3 separate regions of the Homo sapiens genome follow, and all the other regions are linked to region 1. Evidence: promoter capture Hi-C in human tissues and cell types (Jung and others, 2019). All regions are on one chromosome and are shown on one strand. The core of a region is centred on a gene start or on the middle of the fragment in contact, and the rest is flanking DNA. Distances in the headings are between cores, read along the strand shown.

Region 1 (3,982 bases), core at 766-3,265:
CCAGGCTAAGCCACTTAGAAAGGAGCGGAGCCAGCCAATCAGCGGTGCAACCGCCGCGGGGGCCGGGCCAGAAGCCCCGCAGACAAGCACCTCGGGAGACTGGCGAGGGGCGAGCTCGCAGCTTGTTAGCCCCGAAGCCCTGCCCAGGGGGAAACCCTGCTGGAGGGAGTCTAACCCCCGGGCCAGTTAATGTTGGGGCAGCGCAATCGGCCGTTCCCTCTGCGGTATGGTTGGAGGTGGGAGTGCTGACACGTCCGCGCGCAGTTACTCCTGGCTGAGCATACAGTCGAGGTGGCAGTGGGAATTGGAAGTGCAAGTGTCACGCTGCCAATCACGGGGCAAGGCACTGCCCCCCTCTTGTGTCTTTCCTGTCCCTGTACACTTCCAGGCTTCCAGGCGAGGCAGAGTGAGCTGTGCCAGCAATCGTGGTGGAGTGGGACAAGAGAGAAAAGGGAGCTGTTCACAGGCACCGAAGCCTGGCTGGCTCTTTTTTTTTTTGAGACGCCGTCTCGCTCTGTCTCCCAGGCTGGAGTGCAGTGGCGCGATATAGGCTCCCTGCAATCTCCGCCTCCCGGGGTTCAAGCGATTCCCCTGCCTCAGCCTGCCGAGTAGCTGGAATTACAGGCGCCCGCCACCACGCTCAGCTAATTTTTGTATTTTTAGTAGAGACGGGGTTTCACCATGTTGGTCATGCTGATCTCGAACTCCTGACCCCAGGTGATCCGCCCTCCTCGGCCTCCCAAAGTGCTGGGTTTTCAGGCGTGAGCCACCGTGCCCTGCCTGGCTGGCTCTTTTATTTTATTTTTATTTATTTATTAGAGACAGGGCCTCACTGTGTCGCCCAGGCTGCAGTGCAGTGGTGTGATCATAGCTCACTGCAGCCTCGACCTCCTGGGCTCAAGCGATCCTACTACCACCTGGACCTCTCAAAGCCCTGGGATTACGGGCATGAGCCACCGTGCCTGGCCTTGGCTTGCTCTTACGGGCCTCCCAGCCAATCAGGTGTGGCGGCAGCCTACACACCCCCTACACACCTCACAGATGGTAAAGGGTTGAGAGAAAGGTGACAGGGTTTGCAAATGGGAGCTACTTAGGGTGGCAAAATAGAAGCAAGAAAGGCAGGTCAGGCACGGTGTCTCACGGCTGTAGTTCCAGAATTTTGGGAGGCCCAGGTGGAAGGATTGCTTGAGCCCAGGAGTTCGAGGCTGCAGTGAGCTATGATTGCACCATTGCACCCCAGCACCGGCAACAGAGGGAGACCCCGTTCATAAAATAAAAATGAAATAATAATTTTTTAAAAAGCCGGGCGTGGTGGCTCACGCCTGTAATCCCAGCACTTTGGGAGGCCGAGGCGAGTGGATCACGAGGTCAGGAGATCGAGACCATCCTGGCTAACATGGTGAAACCCCATCTCTACTAAATGTACAAAAAATTAGCCGGGCGTGATGGCGGGCGCCTGTAGTCCCAGCTACTTGGGAGGCTAAGGCAGGAGAATGGTGTGAGCCCGGGAGTCGGAGCTTGCAGTGAGCAGAGATCGCGCCACTGCACTCCAGCCTGGGCGACAGAGCGAGACTCTGTCTCAAAAAAAAAAAAAAAAAAAAGGACAGTAGTACTCCTGAGCACTTGCTGAGGGAGCCTCCAGGGCTGTTCAGGTGAAGGAGAATCAGGGTCCAGTCTCTTCGTGGAGAGAGTGGGAAAAGGCAGACTCCACAGCAGATCAACGCTGGGGCCCGGCTGGAAATCAATGAAATCTCAGCCTAAGAGGCCTGAAGCCTATGGACCAATGAGACTCAAGGCTCTGCCCCTTCACAGCCAATCAGCTGCGGGTCCGAGGCAGACGCGCGGGAGTGGCGCTGTCCTAGGTGCCTCCCAGGCTGCCCAGCGTGCTCAGCTGGCCTGAGCGGGAGAATGCGGCCCGCGCTGCAGCCAATCAGCGTCCGCCTCAGGATCCAGGGGTGACCACGTGCGGGAGCGTTGCGTCCCTGGCCTCGCTCCATTCCCCACTTTTAACGGTCACTCGGCCTTAAGCCGTCCTGGGTGTATGTGAGGCTGAAAGGGAAGGAGGAACAGGGTCTGGGCCGGTGAGTGCCATAGTTTTTCTTACTTTACTTTCTTGGGCTTGGGCCCGGCCCAGGCAAATCTGGGGTATGGGGGCTTGACTGGACCTCGTTGATGATTGGGAAGTGCGGGTTGAGGGCTTTAGCCCTTGGGGCTTTCCTCTGCCTTTGAGAGGCTGGAAATGCAGCCTCCTGGCCACCTTTAGGCCTAGGTTTGGCAGAGGCTAAGCCAGCTTGCTCTCTGAGTTGGTCCACGGCCCCCGAGGCCAGCCTGAGTAGGAAGGGTGTTGTGGGGAAGTTGGAGGTCCTTAACTCTGCATGAGGTATGGCCTCCGGACAATGAGAGCTTATCAAGGGTCTCTGGACTGAGCCTGGATCCGGTGACTGAAAGGAGAGGCCTGTGGATCTCCAAAGGTTATGCAGGGGCTGGGCGCGGTGGCTCACGCCTGTAATCCCAGCACTTTGGGAGGCTGAGGCAGGTGGATCATTTGAGGTCAGGAGTTTGAGACCAGCCTGGCCAACATGGAGAAACCCTGTCTCTACGGGGTTTCTAAAAAAAATTACCTGGGCGTGGTGGCACACGTCCGTAATCCCAGCTACTCAGAAAGCTGAGGCAGGAGAATCGCTTGAACTCATTGAACTCAGGAGATGAACGTTGCAGTGAGCTGAGATCACGCCATTGCACTCCAGCCTGGGCGACAGAATGAGACCCTGTCTCAAGAAAAAAAATGAAAAGAAAAAAAAAGTTATGTAGGAAGTCACTGGCCAAGAGATGAAACTAGTGTGCACATGAAGGTTTCCTGGGGTCTTTGGAGCCAGCCTGGGCTGGGAGTGAATGTTCTGGACTCCAGGTTGAGATGTTCTTGGCAGATTTCCCAGTATGGAGTCCAGGTTGGATGATGTGGCCAAGAGGTTAGGCCAGTAATCCTCTGGAGATTCTAGGGAGAAGGATTCTGAATCCCAGCCGAGCTGTTTGCGCTGGATGAAGTATTATTGCCTTGTGGTGGCTCTGTACAGAACTGGGATTGGGTGGCCAGGCGTGGTGGCTCACACCTGTAATCCCAGCACTTTGGGAGGCTGAGGTGGGTGGATCACCAGGTCAGGAGCTCGAGACCAGCCTGACCAACATGGTGAAACCCTGTCTCTACTAAAAATACAAAAATTAGCCAGGTGTGGTGGCAGGTGCCTGTAATCCCAGCTACTCAGGAGTCTGAGGCAGGAGAATCCCTTGAACCCACGAGGCGGAGGTTGCAGTGAGCAGAGATCGCACCACTGCACTCCAGCCTGGGCAACAGAGCAATGCTCTGTCTCAAAAAAAAAAAATTAATTAAAAAAAAAAAAAAGCAGGGCCAGGCGTGGGGGCTCACATCTATAATCCCAGCACTTTGAGAGGCCAAGGCGGGCGGATTACCTGAGGTCAGAAGTTTGAGACCAGCATGACCAACATGGAGAAACCCCATCTCTACTAAAAATACAAAATTAGCTGGGCGTGGTGGCACATGCCTGTAATCCCAGCTACTAGGGAGGCTGAGGCAGGAGAATCGCTTGTACCTGGGAGGCGGAGGTTGCGGTGAGCCGAGATCGTGCCATTGCACTCCAGCCTGGGCAACAAGAGCGAAACTCCATCTCAAAAAAAAAAAAAAAACTGGAATTGGGTCATGTCTGGAGCTTTTCATTCTCCCTGTCCCACTCTTTCCCATGCCTGTTCTGATAATTCCTAGAAGATGAAGATATCAGGCTGTAGGTGCGGGGCAGGTGCATGGGGAGGATGAACATCGTAGTGGAGCACAGGAAGAGGTGTGTGAGATATTCTCCTCTTTAGGAAATCACCCAGGTTTTTGGCAGGGCGTGGTGGCTCACACCTGTAATCCTAGCACTTTGGGAGGCCGAGGCAGGTGGATCACCTGAGGTCAGGAGTTCAAGAC
Region 2 (3,982 bases), core at 733-3,232, 270 kb before region 1:
TACCCTATTCTATCATCCAATTCTATTTCCTTCCGAAAGCGTGCCCCACATTACCTCCTATATTACTGTAGAGACTGTACTAGTGTCTCACCCCTCCCCACAACTACAATGTCAATTTCATGAAGGCAAGAACCATGTCTGCCTTTAAAAAAAAAAAAAATCAGGGTCTCACTCTGTCCCACAGGCTAGAGTGCAGTGGCACAATCTAGGCTCACTGCAGCTTTGATCTCCTGGGCTCAAGTGATCCTCTGACCTCAGCTTCCTGAGTAGCTGGAACTAAAGGCATGCACTACCACATCTGGCTAATTTTTGTATTTTTTTGTAGAGATCAGGTGTCACCATGTTACCCAGGCTGGTCTTGAACTCCTGAGCTCAAGCAATCCACCTGCCTTGGTCTCCCACCAAGTGCTGGGATCATAGGCATGAGCCAACACACCCAGCCACAATGCCTGTCTTGTGATGCTCTATCCCCAACCATCCATGGAGAGATGAAAATGCATGATCTGGTTGTTACCTTGCACTCAGCTGCCTAATCCAAGAGACATGCAGGTGACTTTGAGAAGGCTGGGGCTGTCCTGGGCCCACAGAATTCAGACAGAAGACACTGGGGAAAGGAGAGGAGGTGGGACAGGGACCAGACACAGAGCACTGGAAAGGAGAGGATGTGCAGGAGCAAGAGCTGAGCCGGATTTTCCAGACGGCGGCAGACTCTGGGGGGCTGCCTGGACTTGGGGCATTTTTTCTGGGCTGGCCCTGGACTTAGAGAATATTTTTGTGATTTAGCGGCCCCAATTTTTGTGAAATGTCCTCTGCTGACTGAGAGATTAACCTGCTTTGACTGGGCCATGCTAAAAAATGAACAGGAATTTGATATAGTCCAGTGTGGAGGTGGAGAGGGAGGGAGGTGAAGAAAGAACAGAAGGAAGGGGTAAGACACACTGAGGAGCAGATGGAAGTTACCTGAGGGGATCCTCCAAAGAAGAAAGGGTGGGCTATGCAAACAGTGGATGTAAAAAGACGCCTGGAAGAAGTTAGGACTTGGATTTCTAGGAGAGATTAATTCGACTTGTAGGAGCAGGGATTTGGGGAGAGGCAGAGGGCTCTGCTGCCTCTGAAAGAGCTCACCGAGTGCGCTCCCTCTCTCTGACTAAGGACCCCTGTGGATAAGAAAGCTCTCTGCCCTAGAGAAGAAGAGCAGTCAAGGTGCTTACAGGCTCTTTCCCGAAGACTGAAGACCTTTCCCAGGGTGGACTGTGGTGCCCTTCCCTGTGCAGGCACCCTGACCACTGTGTGTTCAGAGAAGAGGGATGTGGCACACACACCTGAGAAGCACTGGGACTCCTGCGAGACCAAGTGGGAGGTTGCCACTCCTGGGGACCATCTGATGGGAAGCAGCGGTGAAGAAAAGGGAATGGCGTCTGGATGTGGATGGAGGCAGGTGCTTCTACTGCTGCCCGGCCAGAGAGGAGCATCCCCAGAGGGTCCGTCCCTAGCCAGGCTGGAAGCTTGTCTCTGCGCATCTGGTCCCCTCTCGAAGCAGTTCTCAAAAGCCGTTGAGACACACTGCTGGGATGTGGCAACACACCAAGAGGCAAGAAATGTAAGTCCATGGTTCCTGGTAATACTGAAAAAACTAGGCTTTGGAAGTTTAAGTAAACAAAGAAATGAGAGGATATAAGGTAAGCTGTTACAACGTCACTGTCAGTTATGAGTATTCTGTTATGCTTTCTTTTGAGCCAGTCTCGCTCTTTTGCCCAGGCTAGAGTACAGTGGCATGATCTCGGCTCACTGCAACCTTTGCCTCCCGGGTTCAAGCGATTCTCCTGCCTCAGCCTCCTGAGTCACTGGGATTACACATGCCCGCCACCACACCCAGCTAAATTTTTTTGTATTTTAGTACAGACAGGGTTTCACCATGTTGCCCAGGGTGGTCTCAAACTCCTGAGCTCAGGCAATCCGCCCACCTCAGCCTCGCAAAGTGCTAGGATTACAGGTGTGGGCCATCATGCCTGGCCCCCATTACACTTTCTAGAGAGAGGAAGAAGTACTAACCTCACAGTGCAGACTGGAGACTGCACAGCACATGCGCAGATGGTCTTGACAGAGGATGCCTCCCTCTGTGCTGGGGAACTCATCCTTGCCCATTCAGTTTCCGTGGCTCAAGCAGGCTGATGTCAGCCCTTGGCGATGCTGTTGGCGTGTGTGACCCACAAATCATTCAGAGGCAGCAGAGCCAGCCTGGAGATCCGGGCTGTGACTTCAGGACAGGAGACCCTCTCTCTGCACAGGTTATTATCCTAAACTGCCAAAGGTCACTGCGTGAAGCAATTTTACTAAGAGCCACCAAACCCCTCTCTTCCCTCCAACCAAGTTCATTCACCCTTCTCAGAAGAGCCCAAGAGACCTCTGTGAGAGTAAGACAGGAGTTGGCGATGGTGCAATTTGCAGAACGCCATGTTTGTTAGCGCCTTGTCTTCATGTGGCCGGAGGGCACTCCTGAAGCTTCAAACTCCTGTAAAAACGCTTCCTGTCCAGGGAGGGTGGTATGGGAAGTCTGAGGTGGCTGGGAGAGGAACTGGCGAAGTAAGGAGTTGGAGCAGGAGTCAGAGAGACATGGGATGGGGAAACTCACAAGCAGACTCCACCCCAGTCAGGGAACCTCACTCACCGTTCCATTAAGGGCTGGAAAAGGAGGCACCGACAGGTGTCTCACAGAAGCGAATGGTAGCTGTTCAGGAGGCTGGACCCAGGAAAAAGGACATAAAATCGGGGAGGTGCCTCACCCTAATTTTTCTCAACTCCAGCAGAACCTTCTTAGAGAGCCTCACTCAATTCCACATTTCTCCTCCTCTCAGACAAGCCCGGCAGCTCCGTCCACGTCCTTTGCTGAATGGAGCCAGCGTGGTCACTTCTGCCCTATCGAGGAAGCTGAAGGCCCTGGCCCATCTCTGACAGCTCAGGGCACAGGAAAGCCTTGCCTCTGCCTAGTCTGCCCTCTGCTTCCCCACCAGCGTCATCTGTGGCCCACGGCTCTTGGCTGGACCTGCACTGAAGGACACAGCTGCTCCGAGCTACACAACAGGGTGGCTGTCCCTCCGCCCTCCATGTGTGGTGGCTGCTGCAGCAGGATACAGCCAGCCTCCTGGCTGCTATCCCACAGTGCTATGGTTGATTGCGTTCTTACACTGGAAGATAAACAGTGCTTGTGTCAAAGAAAATAGAAACAAGGCCGAGCATGGTGGCTCATGCCTGTAATCCCAGCACTTTGGGAGGCGGAGGTGGGCAGATCACTTGAGGTCAGGAGTTTGAGATCAGCCTGTCCAACATGGCGAAACCCCATCTCTACTAAAAATATAAAAATTAGCTGGGTGTGTTGGCATGCGCCTGTAACCCCAGCTACTCGGGAGGCAGAAGCAGAAGAATTGCTTGAAACCGGGAGGCAGAGGTTGTAGTGAGCCAAGATCGCACCACTGCACTCCAGCCTGGGAGTGCTCATATGAGCACTCACTCTACAGAGACCCTGTCTCACAAAAATAAATAAATAAATAAATAAATAAAATAAATAGATAAAAAAAAGAGGTAGAAGCTGGAAAAGTGGTTATCTTAGGAGTGGAAGGTTTGCTGACTGAGAGGGAATAAAAGGGCCTCTAGGGTGCTGAAAATGGCCTGCATCTCAACCTGGGTGGTCATACACAAATGTACAGATATGTTAACATGCATCCAGCTGTATCCCTAAGTTGAGCTCACCTTTTTGTATGTATGTTACCTGTTAATAACACAATTGATAAAAGCCCCCTCTAAAATCCCACATCTTCCTATGGCTACCATAGATATTTTAGGCTTATAATTGGTTTTGCTCCCCATATTTGCTATTCAAGATCTGTATAATTTTGGAACTCTCCCCTTTTTCCTTGCCAACAGGGTCCCAATTTTGTTAGGTTCGGGAAGTGCCCAATTAATACTCATTTGCCCAAACTCTCTT
Region 3 (3,982 bases), core at 547-3,046, 270 kb after region 1:
CAGGATGCCCCCCAGTGCTCTTAAGGCTCCCCAGCATCCAGTAGCCCCCACCCCAGGTATCCAGAACCTTCAGATACTCAGGGCTCCAGACTTATACTCTCACCAACATGATCCCTCTTTTCCCAAGGACTTGACACTCCTGTGTTCCTTCCTCAATTAATTGGAATTTTAGAATTTTTTTTTTTTTTTTGAGACTGAGTCTCACTCTGTTGCCCAGGCTGGAGTGCAGTGGTGAGATCTTGGCTCACTGCAACCTCTGCCTCCCAGGTTCAAGCAATTGTCCTGCCTCAGCCTCCCAAGTAGCCTGGGACTACAGGCACATGCCACCACACTCGGATAATTTTTGTGTTTTTAGTAGACACGGGGTTTCACTATGTTGGCCAGGCTGGTCTGGAACTCTTGACCTCAGGTGATCCACCTGCCTCAGCCTCCCAAAGTGCTGGGATTACAGGCGTGAGCCACTGCGCCCTGCCAAGATTTGGGCAGGGACAAATAGCCAAACTATATCAGACACTAACAACATCCCTGTGGCTGCCAGTTGAGAACAGATTACAGGGCTTGTGAAGGAATGAGGCCTGGAGGAACAACAGTGAGGAGGCTGCTGCAGTAGTCCCGGCAGGAGACAATGGGGCTTGGACCAGGGTGGGGCAGTGAACGCAGGAGAAATGTGGGCTGGAAACCACCAAGTGAGGCAAAATAAGGAAATCATGGACTGGGAGAAAGGAGGTACCCCTTGATCTGGAAGGACAGGTGGAGGCTCTTGGTAATGGGGGAAGCCCTTGGGTCCTGTCTGAAGGCTCTCCTGTTTACTGGATGAGGTGGGCACACCTGGCTCCTTGGTAGGATTACTCATCTAGATTCCTGAGAAGAGGACTTGCAAGTATTGTGTTAGGACAAATCTGGATATTGAAATCAAGACTCCCAGTTTAAAAAAAAAAAAAAAGAAGGCCGGGCACAGTGGCTCACGCCTGTAATCCCAACACTTTGGGAGGCCAAGGCGGGCGGATCACGAGGTCAGGAGTTCAAAACCAGCCTGACCAACATGGTGAAACCCTGTCTCTACTAAAACTACAAAAATTAGCTTGGCATGGTAGTGCACGCCTGTAATCCCAGCTACTCAGGAGGCTGAGAGAGCAGAATTGCTTGAACCTGGGAGGTGGAGGTTGCAGTGAGCCAAGATCTCGCCACTGCATTCCAGCCTGGGAGACAGAGCGAGACTCTGTCTCAAAAAAAAAAAAAAAAAAAAAAAAGATTCCCGGATAGAGGCTGGGCATGGTGGCTCACATCTACAATCCCAGCACTTTAGGAGGCCAAGGTGGGCAGACTGCTTGAGCTCAGGAGTTCCAGACCAGCCTGGGCAACATGACGAAACCTCGTCTCTACTTAAACACACACACACACACACACACACACACACACACACACACACACACACACACACAGAAAGATTCTTGGTTAGCTGGGCACGGTGGCTCACACCTGTAATCACAGCACTTTGGGAGGCCAAGGTGGGCGGATCACAAGGTCAGGAGATCGAGACCATCCTGGCTAGCACAGTGAAACCCTGTCTCTACTAAAAATACAAAAAATTACGGGGCGTGGTGGCAGGCGCCTGTAGTCCCAGCTACTGGGGAGGCTGAGACAGGAGAATGGCGTGAACCCAGGAGACGGAGCTTGCAGTGAGCCGAGACTGTGCCACTGCACTCCAACCTGGGCGGCAGGGTGAGACTCTGTCTCGAAAAAAAAAAAAAGAAGAAGAAGAAGAAAAAGAAAGATTCTTGGTTAGTAGACGAGGGTGGGGCATCCTAGATCTGCAAAGGCCCCACTCTCAATATCCCAGAATCCAACCCCCTCAACCTCCTTATCCTCCACCCCTCCCCGATGCTCAGGAATTCAGCCCCTCTGAAGACCCCAGCTCTTGGTCACTCCTGCAGGGGAACCCACAGCAGCTGGGGCTGTCAGTTATCCTGGGCGACAGATGGCTATGGTTGTACTTCCACACCTCAGAACCATGGGCAGAGGCAGGTCTGGAGCAAGAACCGCCCACACTGCATCTCTTTTACAACCGGCAGCACACACGTCACTGCACGTGGCTGAAGGTTGCCACTCACACAAGGCAGACTGTGCAGTGACTTCATTCAGGCAGGACCATGACATGGGCAGTCCAGATCCACTGGTCTTCGTGCATTTGGGCCCCGCAGCCACCTGATACCCTGAGCCAAGCCTTAGTCCCCACAGGAGACTGGGGGCCCTGTGCTGTCCCTGTAGCCCCAAAGGGGCCCCTTAGCCACTGCCACCAAGTGTGACACCTACACCCTTCGAGGCCAGTGCCGTGCCTGGATATGCCCCTTCCCCAGCTCCCTGCCTACGCTTTGGGAGTGCTTCCATGTCTGTGTACACCCTGTCAGGCCTCAGTGTCAACACTGAGCCCTCGAGCTTCTGGGCTGGCTGCCGTGAGTGACCCTTCAAGGGAAAGGGTTATAGGCTGCTGGGTAAAGGGGATTCTGGGACTTAGGAATGACACTCCTTAGTTCTGGAGGCTGATTCCTGGGGCAAGGGTGTAGGGTCCCTGGAAGGGGACAGCCTCTGGGTCCTGGGGGCAAGACTGCTGAGTTGGGGGGTGCGGGGAAAATAATTCTAGGGCCCAGAGACAGGGCTCTTTGGGTCTGGGGCCAGGGCTTCTGGGTCCTGGGCATGGGAACAACTTGGCTATAGGGCTGGGACTGCTGGGTTCTCAAGTTCTAGAGACTAGAACACCTAGGTGGTGACAACTCCAGTATCTGGGGTGAGCGCTCTGAGTCCCAGAGCCAGACTTATTTATTTATTTAGACAGGATGTCACTCTGTTGTTTATTTAGACAGGGTATCACTCTGTTGCCAAGGCTGGAGTGCAGTGGTACTATCATAGCTCACTGCAGCCTCAACCTCCCAGGCTCAAGCCATCCTCCCTCCTCAGCTTCCCAAGTATCTGGGACCACGGGCATGTGCCACTATGCCCAGATAATTTTTTAATTTTTTTTGTAAAGATGAGGTCTTCCTATGTTGCCCAGGCTGGTCTCTAATTCCTGAGCTCAAGTGATCCTCCCACCTTGGCCTCCCAAAATGCTGGGATTACAGATGTGAGCCACTACGCCTGTCCCAGAGCCAGACTTCTATGTTCTGGGGAGTGGACTTCTGGTTTCTTAGCACAGAGACTTCTTTACTCTGTGAGGCAGGGATTGCTGGGTCTGTTGCCTGGAGAGCTCCATTCTAGAGGGTGAGGACCACAGGATGTTGGTAGGGATTCCTGGAAGCTGAGAGCAGGGACATTTGCACTATAGGGGTGGCCAAATGCTTGGGTCTTGGAAACCAGACCTGGGAGTCCTGGTGTGAATACCTTTCCCTTCCTGTCTTTCTCCATCCCCACTCCTGCCCCTGCAGCTATTGAGTGCCCCGAAAACAATCACTATGAGCCATGTGGCTTATCCTGTCCAGAGACCCCCCACAGGCAGGCCCACTGGGGGTTACCACTGCCCTGCGGGCATACTTGTGCCTGCGACACAGGCTGCTTCTTCCTTTTTTAAGAGACAGGGTCCTGCCAGGCGCGGTGGCTCATGCCCGTAATCCCAGCACTTTAGGAGGCTGAGGCAGGCGGATAATCTGAGGTCAGGAGTTCAAGACCAGCCTGACCAATATGATGAAACCCCATCTCTACTAAAAATACAAAAATTAGTTGGGTGTGGTGGCAGGTGCCTATAATCCCAGAATCTAGGGAGGCTGAGACAGGAGAATCGCTTGAACTCAGGAGGTGGAGATTGGAGTGAGCCGAGATTGTGCCACTGCACTCCAGCCTGGGCGACAGAGCAAGACTCTGTCAAAAACAAAATCCTAGAATCTCAAGGGCAAGCCCCAGTGTACCAGAAGTGTCAGACTCTGGGATCTTGGAACCCAGTTCTGAGCCAATAATTCCATTTCCTCATTCAACAACCATATATTGAGTATCT

Evidence for each region. The method cuts DNA at HindIII sites, captures the fragments that hold promoters and counts their contacts. A contact is called where the count stands out against the background at its distance.
Region 2: a contact is called between a fragment that was not itself captured here and the fragment with the promoter of ZBTB32 in region 1, in 1 of the 25 tissues and cell types used here (spleen).
Region 3: a contact is called between a fragment that was not itself captured here and the fragment with the promoter of ZBTB32 in region 1, in 4 of the 25 tissues and cell types used here (dorsolateral prefrontal cortex, heart right ventricle, lymphoblastoid cells and 1 more).

What each region holds. Positions count from the first base shown.
Region 1 is chr19:35,702,543-35,706,524 of GRCh38, forward strand. ZBTB32 (zinc finger and BTB domain containing 32) reads left to right here and starts at 2,016. Exons shown (of 7, transcript NM_014383.3): 1 at 2,016-2,081. The HindIII fragment of the contact is 13,873 bases long and covers 1-3,982 here.
Region 2 is chr19:35,431,537-35,435,518 of GRCh38, forward strand. LOC101927522 (a long non-coding RNA gene) reads right to left here and starts at 3,117. Exons shown (of 7, transcript NR_187751.1): 1 at 2,784-3,117; 2 at 2,053-2,302; 3 at 1,323-1,566. RefSeq lists an enhancer at 1,358-2,557. The HindIII fragment of the contact is 5,373 bases long and covers 1-3,982 here.
Region 3 is chr19:35,971,636-35,975,617 of GRCh38, forward strand. No RefSeq gene overlaps it. Among named protein-coding and RNA genes, the nearest start is that of SDHAF1, 22 kb to the right of the region's middle. RefSeq lists a silencer at 1,919-2,119. The HindIII fragment of the contact is 9,546 bases long and covers 1-3,982 here.